Regions from separate parts of the Homo sapiens genome. Here region 1 is linked to region 2. Evidence: promoter capture Hi-C in 16 types of primary human blood cells and fetal thymus (Javierre and others, 2016). All regions are on one chromosome and are shown on one strand. Each heading gives the region's core, a stretch centred on a gene start or on the middle of the fragment in contact. The rest is flanking DNA. Distances are from core to core; before and after follow the strand shown. Region 1 has its middle 24 kb from the start of MTUS2. Region 2 holds the start of FLT1 (fms related receptor tyrosine kinase 1).

Evidence for each region. Contacts are between HindIII fragments. The CHiCAGO score rates a contact against its expected background, and 5 or more counts as called.
Region 1: a contact is called between a fragment that was not itself captured here and the fragment with the promoter of FLT1 in region 2, in 1 of 17 cell types (M2 macrophages). The highest score is 5.6, in M2 macrophages.

What each region holds. Positions count from the first base shown.
Region 1 is chr13:28,793,869-28,799,162 of GRCh38, reverse strand. No RefSeq gene overlaps it. Among named protein-coding and RNA genes, the nearest start is that of MTUS2, 24 kb to the left of the region's middle. The HindIII fragment of the contact is 3,819 bases long and covers 1-3,368 here.
Region 2 is chr13:28,493,177-28,497,960 of GRCh38, reverse strand. FLT1 (fms related receptor tyrosine kinase 1) reads left to right here and starts at 2,833. Exons shown (of 30, transcript NM_002019.4): 1 at 2,833-3,181. The coding sequence starts at 3,118. RefSeq lists silencers at 2,928-2,977, 3,098-3,217, 3,298-3,347. The HindIII fragment of the contact is 4,512 bases long and covers 1-4,447 here.

The sequences.
Region 1 (5,294 bases), core at 210-2,709, 300 kb before region 2:
AGATGCTCAATAAATATTGGCTGATTGATCAACTCATTGGATGGTTACACTGGTTGATGTTAAAGTGGGTGGCCTATTTGCTTAGCTTCTGTTCTCCAGAACAGTTAGACCAAGATCAATATATAATCCACTTCAACTGTTGTTGACATGGTCATTCTTTTTTTTTTTTTTTTTTTTCTGAGAGAGAGTCTTGCTCTGTAGCCCAGGCTGAAGTGCAGTGGTGTGATCTTGGCTCACTGCAACCTCCACCTCCCAGGTTCAAGTGATTCTCCTTCCTTAGCCTCCCGAGTAGCTGGAATTACAGGCACCCACCACCACACTTGGCTGACTTTTGTATTTTTGGTAGAGACAGGGTTTCGCCCTGTTGCCCAGGCTGGTCTTGAACTCCTGGGCTCAAGCAATCCGCCTGCCTTGGCCTCCCAAAGTGCTGGGATTACAGGCGTGAGTCACCACTCCTGGCCAAAATGGTCATTCTTTTATATCTCTCAATCTAGATAATTTTTGGAGGACCCAAACACCACATAGGAGATAAGAAAGGGGGAATTTTAAAGGATCATCCCCACTTCCTAAAGCTAAGTTATTCTAGCAATTTAATAAATTGGATTAGGGTAGGAAACATGGAGTCCAAGTCCAGCTCTTCCCCTGAACACCTGCTTAGGGCTTTAGTTCTCTACAAAACTAACCAGGGTTAGAATCATTCATTAGGCAACCACATTGCACAGTGGAAAAACAGGGGTTTTTGGAGTCAGGTGGATCTGGCATTGAGGGCAAAATATCAGTTTCTAGCTTAACAACCTAGGGCACATTATTTAAATTCACTGATTGTCAGTTTTCTACGGGAAATACAATATCTGCCTTGCAATGTTGCTAAATGAGACAAAATGTATGAAGCGCATGCCACTGTGCTTAGCACACAGTAGAGTCTAGACAGGGACTTCCGTGGTGTAAATCACACTCCTGTGCTTATACACAGAGGAAGCTCATCTTTCATCAGTTTTTTTTAGGCAGGGTCTCCCTGTGTTGCCCAGGCTGCAGTGCAGTGGCACAATCACAGCTCACTGCAGCCTTAATCTCAGTGGGCTCAGGTGATCCTCCCACTCACCCTCCTGAGTAGTTGGGACTACAGGCACACACTACCATGCCCAGCTAATTTTTGTATTTTTTTGTAGAGATGGAGTTTCACCATGTTTCCCAGGCTGGTCTCAAACTCCAGAGGTTCAAGTCATCCACTTGCCTCAGCCTCCCAAAATGCTGGGATCACAGGCATGAGCCACTGCCTGGCCATCTTTCAGTTTTTACTTATGCTTTACAATTTCTCTCTCTCTCTCTCTCTCTCTCTCTCTCACACACACACACACACACACACACACACACACACACAGAGTGAAATAGGGAAAAGACAGCAAAAGTCCACCAGGTTTAACAGAGTATTTTCCTATGGTTTTGGTACCATCATTGCCAGAAAAGAAAGGTTATCATAGAGTCCGTGATTTAATGGTTAAATATAAAATTCTTTATGCCTTAAAATCATTAAAGTACTATTTCTCAGGTAATTCTCCCTATGTCCAATAAAATTAAAAGTCACCACATGTTGAGAACTTGGAAATGGGAGTGATTACATTTTTTTTTTTTTTTTTTTTGAGACAGAGTCTCACTCTGTCGACAAGGCTGGAGTGCAGTGGTGCTGTCTTGGCTCACTGCAAGCTCCGCCTCCCGGGCTCATGCCATTCTCCTGCCTCAGCCTCCCGAGTAGCTGGGACTACAGGCGCCCACCACCACGCCTGGCTAATTTTTTTGTATTTTTAGTAGAGACGGTGTTTCACCGTGTTAGCCAGGATGGTCTCGATCTCCTGACCTCGTGATCCGCCCGCCTCAGCCTCCCAAAGTGTTGGGATTACAGGCGTGAGCCACCGCACCTGGCCTGATTACATTATTTAAGCCCTGAACAAAAGTACCATTAAGGTGTAGGCCCATTCCAATAACTTTTAAAGATTATGAAGAATACTTCACACACAGTAAGCAAGGTTATATGATGGCACAATTCAACAGTGGAACCAACTGCTCAACATGTTGTGTTTCTGCTGTACTTTACATGGTAGATCTGGATACTAAAGTTTGTGACTGCTTGGTTTTAAGCAAAAGTCACCTGCTTACAAGGTAATTCACTTTAGAACTGGCTATTCAAATCTGCAGCAGCCTTCAAAAGTGCAGATGGAGAAAACTGATGCTCAAACCATTGTCTCAAATTGGGTTTTGAAACTGGAATAGGGAGCATTTTCTTCACAGATTTTGAGGTAGAGCTAATTCCTGGTTTGCCCAGCAGAGGGCAACAGCCCCCACGGGAAAGTGCAAGAGTGTTCACCCGCTTTAAAAGCCATCTTCCCAGCTACTCGGGAGGCTGAGGCAGGAGAATGGCGTGAACCCGGGAGGCGGAGCTTGCAGTGAGCCGAGATCGCGCCACTGCGCTCTAGCCTGGGCGACAGAGGGAGACTCCGTCTCAAAAAAAAAAAAAAAAAAAGCCAACTTCACCGGAGGTCCACGGAGAGAAAGCGGCGGCCAAGGGGTGGGTGACATCATTCCTGGTCAAGAAGATCACCCAGGGACAAGCATAAAATGGAAATGCGGGTCCCTTGTTAAAAAAGAGAAAAAAAGCGTTTCTTCTGCAGTCTCTCTCAGTTGACCTGTCCAGATGTTTTGTTTGCTATTTAATGTCACACTCCCTCACGCACAGAGATGCTGGCAGGCTGGGGACAGACCCTTAGGGCACCAAGGGCCCGCCCTGTGGTTAGGCGTGCAGAGGGTCATGCCTGGCCCTGCCCCCACCCTGCCCTGCCCGTCTGGTGGAGGGCGGCAGGGGCACCGTGTCGGGCCTCTCAGGATGAAGGGCAGCAGCAGTTCTGAGCAGGAGCAGGAGCAGGAACAGGTGACCCAGACCCAAGTCCGCGAGGTGGGGAGGAGGCAGGAGGCAGGACCGCACAGGAGCCGAGCCTCCAGGCCCTGGGGAACAAGCCCCATTGTCCCGGACTTCACTTACAGAACAAAAGGAAGGATAACTGTGTTGAGAATTTCAAGATGGTGTCCATGGAGCCTTGAAGCCCAAGTTGGGGGGCCCCTAAGAGCGTGGGGCCCTGCCGGCGTACCTCGCCACACACCTGTCCAGAGGGTTGGTTACTCTCTGAGCCTAACCAACGCCAACCAGCTGGTACACCTAAGCCCAGACTGTGCTGTCACCTGCCTGCTTTCTAGTTCCTGGAAGAGAAGGGGTTGTTACACCCCGGGATGCTCACTACCATCAGGAACAGAATCTCCTCTCTGCCTGCTGGCTCTGGCTATATTGATCTCCACCACGTTCCTGGAACACCCAAGCTTGCTCTCCCATAGGGCCCTTAACTGTGTGCTTCCCTGGACTGCTCCTTCCCAGAGACTATGAGGACCCCTCCTTCCCTTCATTCAGATCAGGGACGCTTTCTCCAGCTAAAATAGCAACCCCCTCCAGGCACATCTCACCCTTTAACCAGCTTTATTTTTCCTCATATCGCATATCATCCGTTCCTGATGTCTTGTGTATTTATTTGATTGCTTTTGGTCTATCTGCTCTGACTGGACAGTCTGGCAAGGCACCTTAGCTCATGCCTGTAATCCCAGCATTTTGGGAGGCCAAGGCAAGAGGATCGCTTGAGGCCAGGAGTTCCAGATCAGCCTGGTCAACATAGCAAGATCTTGCCTCTACAAAAATACTACTACTACTAATAATAGACTGTCCATGGGAGCAGGATTTGTGGGGGAGTTTTTTTGTTCATGACTATCTGCAGCTCCTAGAACCACTGCTAGTATGTGTAAACACTCAAATGTTGAAGTGAGAATAAATGTCTTGATAACCTACTGGCTGATGGCAAGGTGCCTACTAATGAGACCAAGGAAGAACCAGGACAGGGTTGCTACCAAGCAGGACTTAAGTAAGTAAGTCACTGAGTGGCTGGTACAGGAAAGAACTCTTTACTTGTTTGCAGATTTGCCCTAATAAAGAATGCCAGCTTCACATAGTATCTTTATATTTCCCATCTCCTAAGCTGTGATATTTTTATAACACCCTTAGAGAGTGACTTAATCATGCCATTTACAGGTAAAATACAGAAAGCCCAGAGAAGTAAAGATCTTACAGAACGTCACACAGCTCATAGTGGCAGAGCCAAAACTACAAGACCCAAGGCTCTTTTGAGTTTTATCCTGTGCTGTTTTCAGAGATCATTCTTTTCTGAACATGTGGTCTGCAACCTGAGCTTGTAGTTTTATATTCAAGGTCAGGAGGCAGCAGAAGAGACCTACTGTCTCTAGCAACTCTACTTAGTGGCCCAAGACCTTGGGAGTTTACTCAGCTTGTTTCCAGAGATCAGTCCGCTTTGCTTTGGTTTCAGTTCAGGGTTAGCATATCAATAATTCTTTATTAATAAGGCCAAGCATATAATGTTTCTTAGCAGTTGCATATCGAATATGGAGAGAAAACATAGGGAGTGTACTATGTATTGTGAAACATTGCACCAGACAAGCATATTCTAAGCCATGTGATTCTAAGCATTTGCTTCCTAAATGATCGTTGATCTCTGGCCGCTGAAGAGTTCATTGTCTATCTGTGAACAAGTCACTTGTTCCAGCCCATTACCGCAGCTAATTAGCCACAACTACATTTCACGTAAGGGTTGCCTTTGTGTTGAACTTTAATATTCAGCAGGAGAATAGACACTGCATCCCTTTAATTGTGTTTTCCTAATTAAATTCCAAATTCTAATTGTTTCTTCCCCTTGAAATGAAGATCTTAGATTTTATCGTCAAGTTCCTATGCTCAAGTTTTATTTTAACTGTTTTTAAAACCTTGCCACAACTAAGTAACCAAGTAGACTTTGCACCACAGATAACTTTTGGATACATGATTATCTAATAGTAGATGTATAATGATTACAAAAGGGACAAGAATAATACACTTCAGGGTCACTAGACAAAATGAAATGTATCCTCTCCTTGTCATGAACCACTGTTTCTCATTTCCTAATCTCTAAAATGGAAGAAATTCCATCTGACTTTTATTGACTTAAAAGGAGATTAAGAAGATTAATTTAACACTGTTAGAAAAAACAAAAATATTATAGTATACATTTTGGCAAGCAAAAGTACCATGTTAATAATATTATTATTTACAACATAGTTGCTTTATAACAGATTGGTAAAAATGAGAGGATTTGTAGAACACAGAATTTTGAAACTAGGAGAGACTCCAAAGGCGATCTGGTTCAAATTCA
Region 2 (4,784 bases), core at 1,584-4,083:
TGCATTATGCAGAGTATGCCCATAGAGTGTATTTTTCCTTTTGTATCAAGCTACCTAACCCAAGTGGAAAAGAAATTCCTGACTGATCCTCAGTGACTGTGGCTGATCAGCTCCATGCTTGGTCTTTGGAGGAAGGTGAGAGCCTGGGCTCCCTCCTGTCTCTCACACTGGTGCTCCAACACTCTTATTCAGTCTCGAATATTAAAGCTGATGGATTTAGCAACAGTGTGCTTCTGAATAGGGGTGAGAAAGAAACCTCAAGAGAATGTTTGTAGCTGATAACAAGAGAGAGTGTCTGGTTTTGCTAACCAAACAGGAGATGAAATGTTCTTTTGTATGTGAGCAGGAAGCAAGCAGATTGCCTACTTCAATAGCTTTTTATACCCACCAGGCGTGTTGAATTCCATCTTCTCCATCAGTATTATCTATAAAACCTCTTTCATTAGTGATTTAGTTAGGAGAGTGCTATAGCCCATTCTCATTCAAAGGTATTATCTCTTTTGGGGAGAGGATTGGGAGCTATACATTTATTCCCCATATCTAAGCTAAAATTTGTAGCATTTTTGAGTTCTTTGTGAGAACGCTAATGCAACTAACAAAGAAGTCATAGTCAATAAATTGCTGACTCTAATTAAAAGCAACTTTTCAAAAGAGTAGTTGGGAAATGTGGAAGCCCACCCTTACTGCAGCATAGTTTTAATATAAATCTTAGATTCGACTGTGACTCTACTAACCTTAAATAATTGAGCAACATGTTAATATCATTGATTAGCATCTTAGATTATAAAGATTGTTTCAGCTGTCCATCAAATACCTGTTCTGGCTTTACAGACACAATGTAGATTCATTGCTGGCAGCAGGTTTGGAAAGTGTTGTCTCTTTATGAGTTAAAAATATCAAAATGGCATTTGAAAAAATGTATTAGCAAATTAAACCTTTGTACATGGTACTATGGACCACTTTCCCCCAGAGTCAAATGTGTGTCTCTCCTGAGAAGCCCTCCTTGGGTTTTCCCTGCCAATAAATGTGCCTTTACTTCTCTGAGCTGATGGAGGACTAAACACCCCTCCAGCACTGGAATGCCGGTCCTGCAGCCACTTCAAGTGTCCACCTTCTTATCACAGTCCAAGCCCTTTAGAAGGCAAAGATGATGGCTCTCCATCAGTGTTTTCAGCCCTAACCCAATGCCTGGCCCCTGTTGAATGCTGCAGAAGGACAATGCTGACAGCTTCTCCTTGAAAGAGGGTGTGGGAGTGACAAGCAGCTCTCAGGTGAGACCAACAGACACTGTGGCTCCGCACGTATGTCCCAGGCTGTGTTCTGGGCTGGGGGACCAGCAAGGAGAAGGATCAGCTGTCCGCTTCCAGCTGTTCTGAGGGATGATGCTGTGGGTTTTAGAGGAGGCAGGGGTGCGGGAGGCAGAGAAAGGCGCCAGGAAGAGTGGTGAGGAGAACTGGAAAAACAGAAAGCGCTGGTGAAGCCAGCAGGCAAGCAATGACTCCGGCAGTCTTCCTTGCCTCTGAAGCAGAAGGGATCCAGGGACAGTTAGTGGCTCAGGTCCTGCGGCTCCAGGTGCCCAGACGTGCATTTCCTGTGTGGAGTGGCCGGGGCCTCTCCTTGGTGTGCAGCCCAGAAATGTGGCAACTTTGGGTTACCCAACCTTCCTAGGCGGGGAGGTAGTCCAGTCCTTCAGGAAGAGTCTCTGGCTCCGTTCAAGAGCCATCACAGTCCCTTGTATTACATCCCTCTGACGGGTTCCAATAGGACTATTTTTCAAATCTGCGGTATTTACAGAGACAAGACTGGGCTGCTCCGTGCAGCCAGGACGACTTCAGCCTTTGAGGTAATGGAGACATAATTGAGGAACAACGTGGAATTAGTGTCATAGCAAATGATCTAGGGCCTCAAGTTAATTTCAGCCGGTTGTGGTCAGAGTCACTCATCTTGAGTAGCAAGCTGCCACCAGAAAGATTTCTTTTTCGAGCATTTAGGGAATAAAGTTCAAGTGCCCTGCGCTTCCAAGTTGCAGGAGCAGTTTCACGCCTCAGCTTTTTAAAGGTATCATAATGTTATTCCTTGTTTTGCTTCTAGGAAGCAGAAGACTGAGGAAATGACTTGGGCGGGTGCATCAATGCGGCCGAAAAAGACACGGACACGCTCCCCTGGGACCTGAGCTGGTTCGCAGTCTTCCCAAAGGTGCCAAGCAAGCGTCAGTTCCCCTCAGGCGCTCCAGGTTCAGTGCCTTGTGCCGAGGGTCTCCGGTGCCTTCCTAGACTTCTCGGGACAGTCTGAAGGGGTCAGGAGCGGCGGGACAGCGCGGGAAGAGCAGGCAAGGGGAGACAGCCGGACTGCGCCTCAGTCCTCCGTGCCAAGAACACCGTCGCGGAGGCGCGGCCAGCTTCCCTTGGATCGGACTTTCCGCCCCTAGGGCCAGGCGGCGGAGCTTCAGCCTTGTCCCTTCCCCAGTTTCGGGCGGCCCCCAGAGCTGAGTAAGCCGGGTGGAGGGAGTCTGCAAGGATTTCCTGAGCGCGATGGGCAGGAGGAGGGGCAAGGGCAAGAGGGCGCGGAGCAAAGACCCTGAACCTGCCGGGGCCGCGCTCCCGGGCCCGCGTCGCCAGCACCTCCCCACGCGCGCTCGGCCCCGGGCCACCCGCCCTCGTCGGCCCCCGCCCCTCTCCGTAGCCGCAGGGAAGCGAGCCTGGGAGGAAGAAGAGGGTAGGTGGGGAGGCGGATGAGGGGTGGGGGACCCCTTGACGTCACCAGAAGGAGGTGCCGGGGTAGGAAGTGGGCTGGGGAAAGGTTATAAATCGCCCCCGCCCTCGGCTGCTCTTCATCGAGGTCCGCGGGAGGCTCGGAGCGCGCCAGGCGGACACTCCTCTCGGCTCCTCCCCGGCAGCGGCGGCGGCTCGGAGCGGGCTCCGGGGCTCGGGTGCAGCGGCCAGCGGGCGCCTGGCGGCGAGGATTACCCGGGGAAGTGGTTGTCTCCTGGCTGGAGCCGCGAGACGGGCGCTCAGGGCGCGGGGCCGGCGGCGGCGAACGAGAGGACGGACTCTGGCGGCCGGGTCGTTGGCCGCGGGGAGCGCGGGCACCGGGCGAGCAGGCCGCGTCGCGCTCACCATGGTCAGCTACTGGGACACCGGGGTCCTGCTGTGCGCGCTGCTCAGCTGTCTGCTTCTCACAGGTGAGGCGCGGCTGGGGGCCGGGGCCTGAGGCGGGCTGCGATGGGGCGGCCGGAGGGCAGAGCCTCCGAGGCCAGGGCGGGGTGCACGCGGGGAGACGAGGCTGTAGCCCGGAGAAGCTGGCTACGGCGAGAACCTGGGACACTAGTTGCAGCGGGCACGCTTGGGGCCGCTGCGCCCTTTCTCCGAGGGAGCGCCTCGAGGAGTGGCTGGCCTGGACCCGCGAGCATCAGCGCTCAGACCGGGTCCGCGCTGGGGCTGTCCGTTTGCGACAGGATCGCTGATCCCTTATCCAGCTGTCGGGTTGGGGTCTCACTGCCGAGGCCCTGGGCACTAGGAGCAGCACGCACCGGGACCTGCCTGGCACCCAGAGCCCATTCCCAGAGGACCTGGGGCAGGTACGCAGGGTCCCCCGGAGCCGGGAGCAGAGGCTCCTGAAAGCCTGCCAGGCTGCCCGGGGCTGGGCTGAGGCCGGGACTTTGGTGATATTGGGCACTGGCCGCGACCTCGCGTCACGAGAGTGTAGGAGGGGAGCCGATTTGGAGGGGACTCGTGCCTGCGGGGGAGCAGGAGGATCTCAGGAGAGGGCCAGCGCCGGCATCCCATGACCCGCTTGAGTCCCCAAGCCGGACTGTCCCGGGGAACGCTCGGCGAGCGCCCGCTCCTCCCCGCCGCTCTCGGACCGCGGGGCCCCAGTGCGCTGCGCTCAGCCACCCGGGTGGGGCCTCTGCCGGGAGCAGGCGTGGTGCGCGGTCCAGTCCGTGTCGCGGACATCAGTGACCCTGACCCACAAGGGCAGCCCAGGGCCCAAATACCGTTAACTTACTGACTTACAAGCCTAGCCTTTAAAATCCGAGCGAAGAGAGGGCGGGCGATTTTGACCAAACGATGTGGTTTGAGGAATCGATGAGGTCCGCCCGCCACCTAAGTCAGCCTTCGCTGGGCGTTTGGGAGACGGGCGGTGGAACAGTCAGGGGCCGGGGGTTTTACCAGCAGTTAGACCGCCGCCATTGAGGGGTCAAAGCCCCGAGGAACTTGAGGGTTCGGACTCGCAGTCTCTGCTCAGTGGGGCTGAGTGGCGGAGATTTGTGCCTCGTTCCCCTGGGCGCAGAGAGCCAGATTTCGGAGCGCCTTTCTTTTAAGCATCGTGGAGAAAAGGTAAAATATGAAATAAAATATAGTAATATAAAATAAGTCATTGCAATGATTCCCGGGAAGAAAAGTCAATAGGATGGAGCGTAGTACAACAACAACAACAACAAAAAGCTTGTTAAACCCAAAAAGCAGTAATAATTAAATATTCTTTCTCAGTGGGAAGACTAACTAGACCGTCAGTTTCCAAGTAACAAGTAATAGTTCCAATTAGATTGGAGAAACTACTAAACCCGGAGACAGGGCGAAGTGGTAACTTCTGAGAACTCACTGTAGGTTGGGAAAGGTGCTAACATAACTATATTAAATAAAATGTTGTATTTTCTATTTCACAAATACATTTTTTGTTTTGAAAAGTCACTTGTATTAAAATATAATTGCTTAGAGAATTTAAATACCTCACTCGACTATTATGTAAAGATAAATCTAGCTAAATTACATGAATCTAAAATT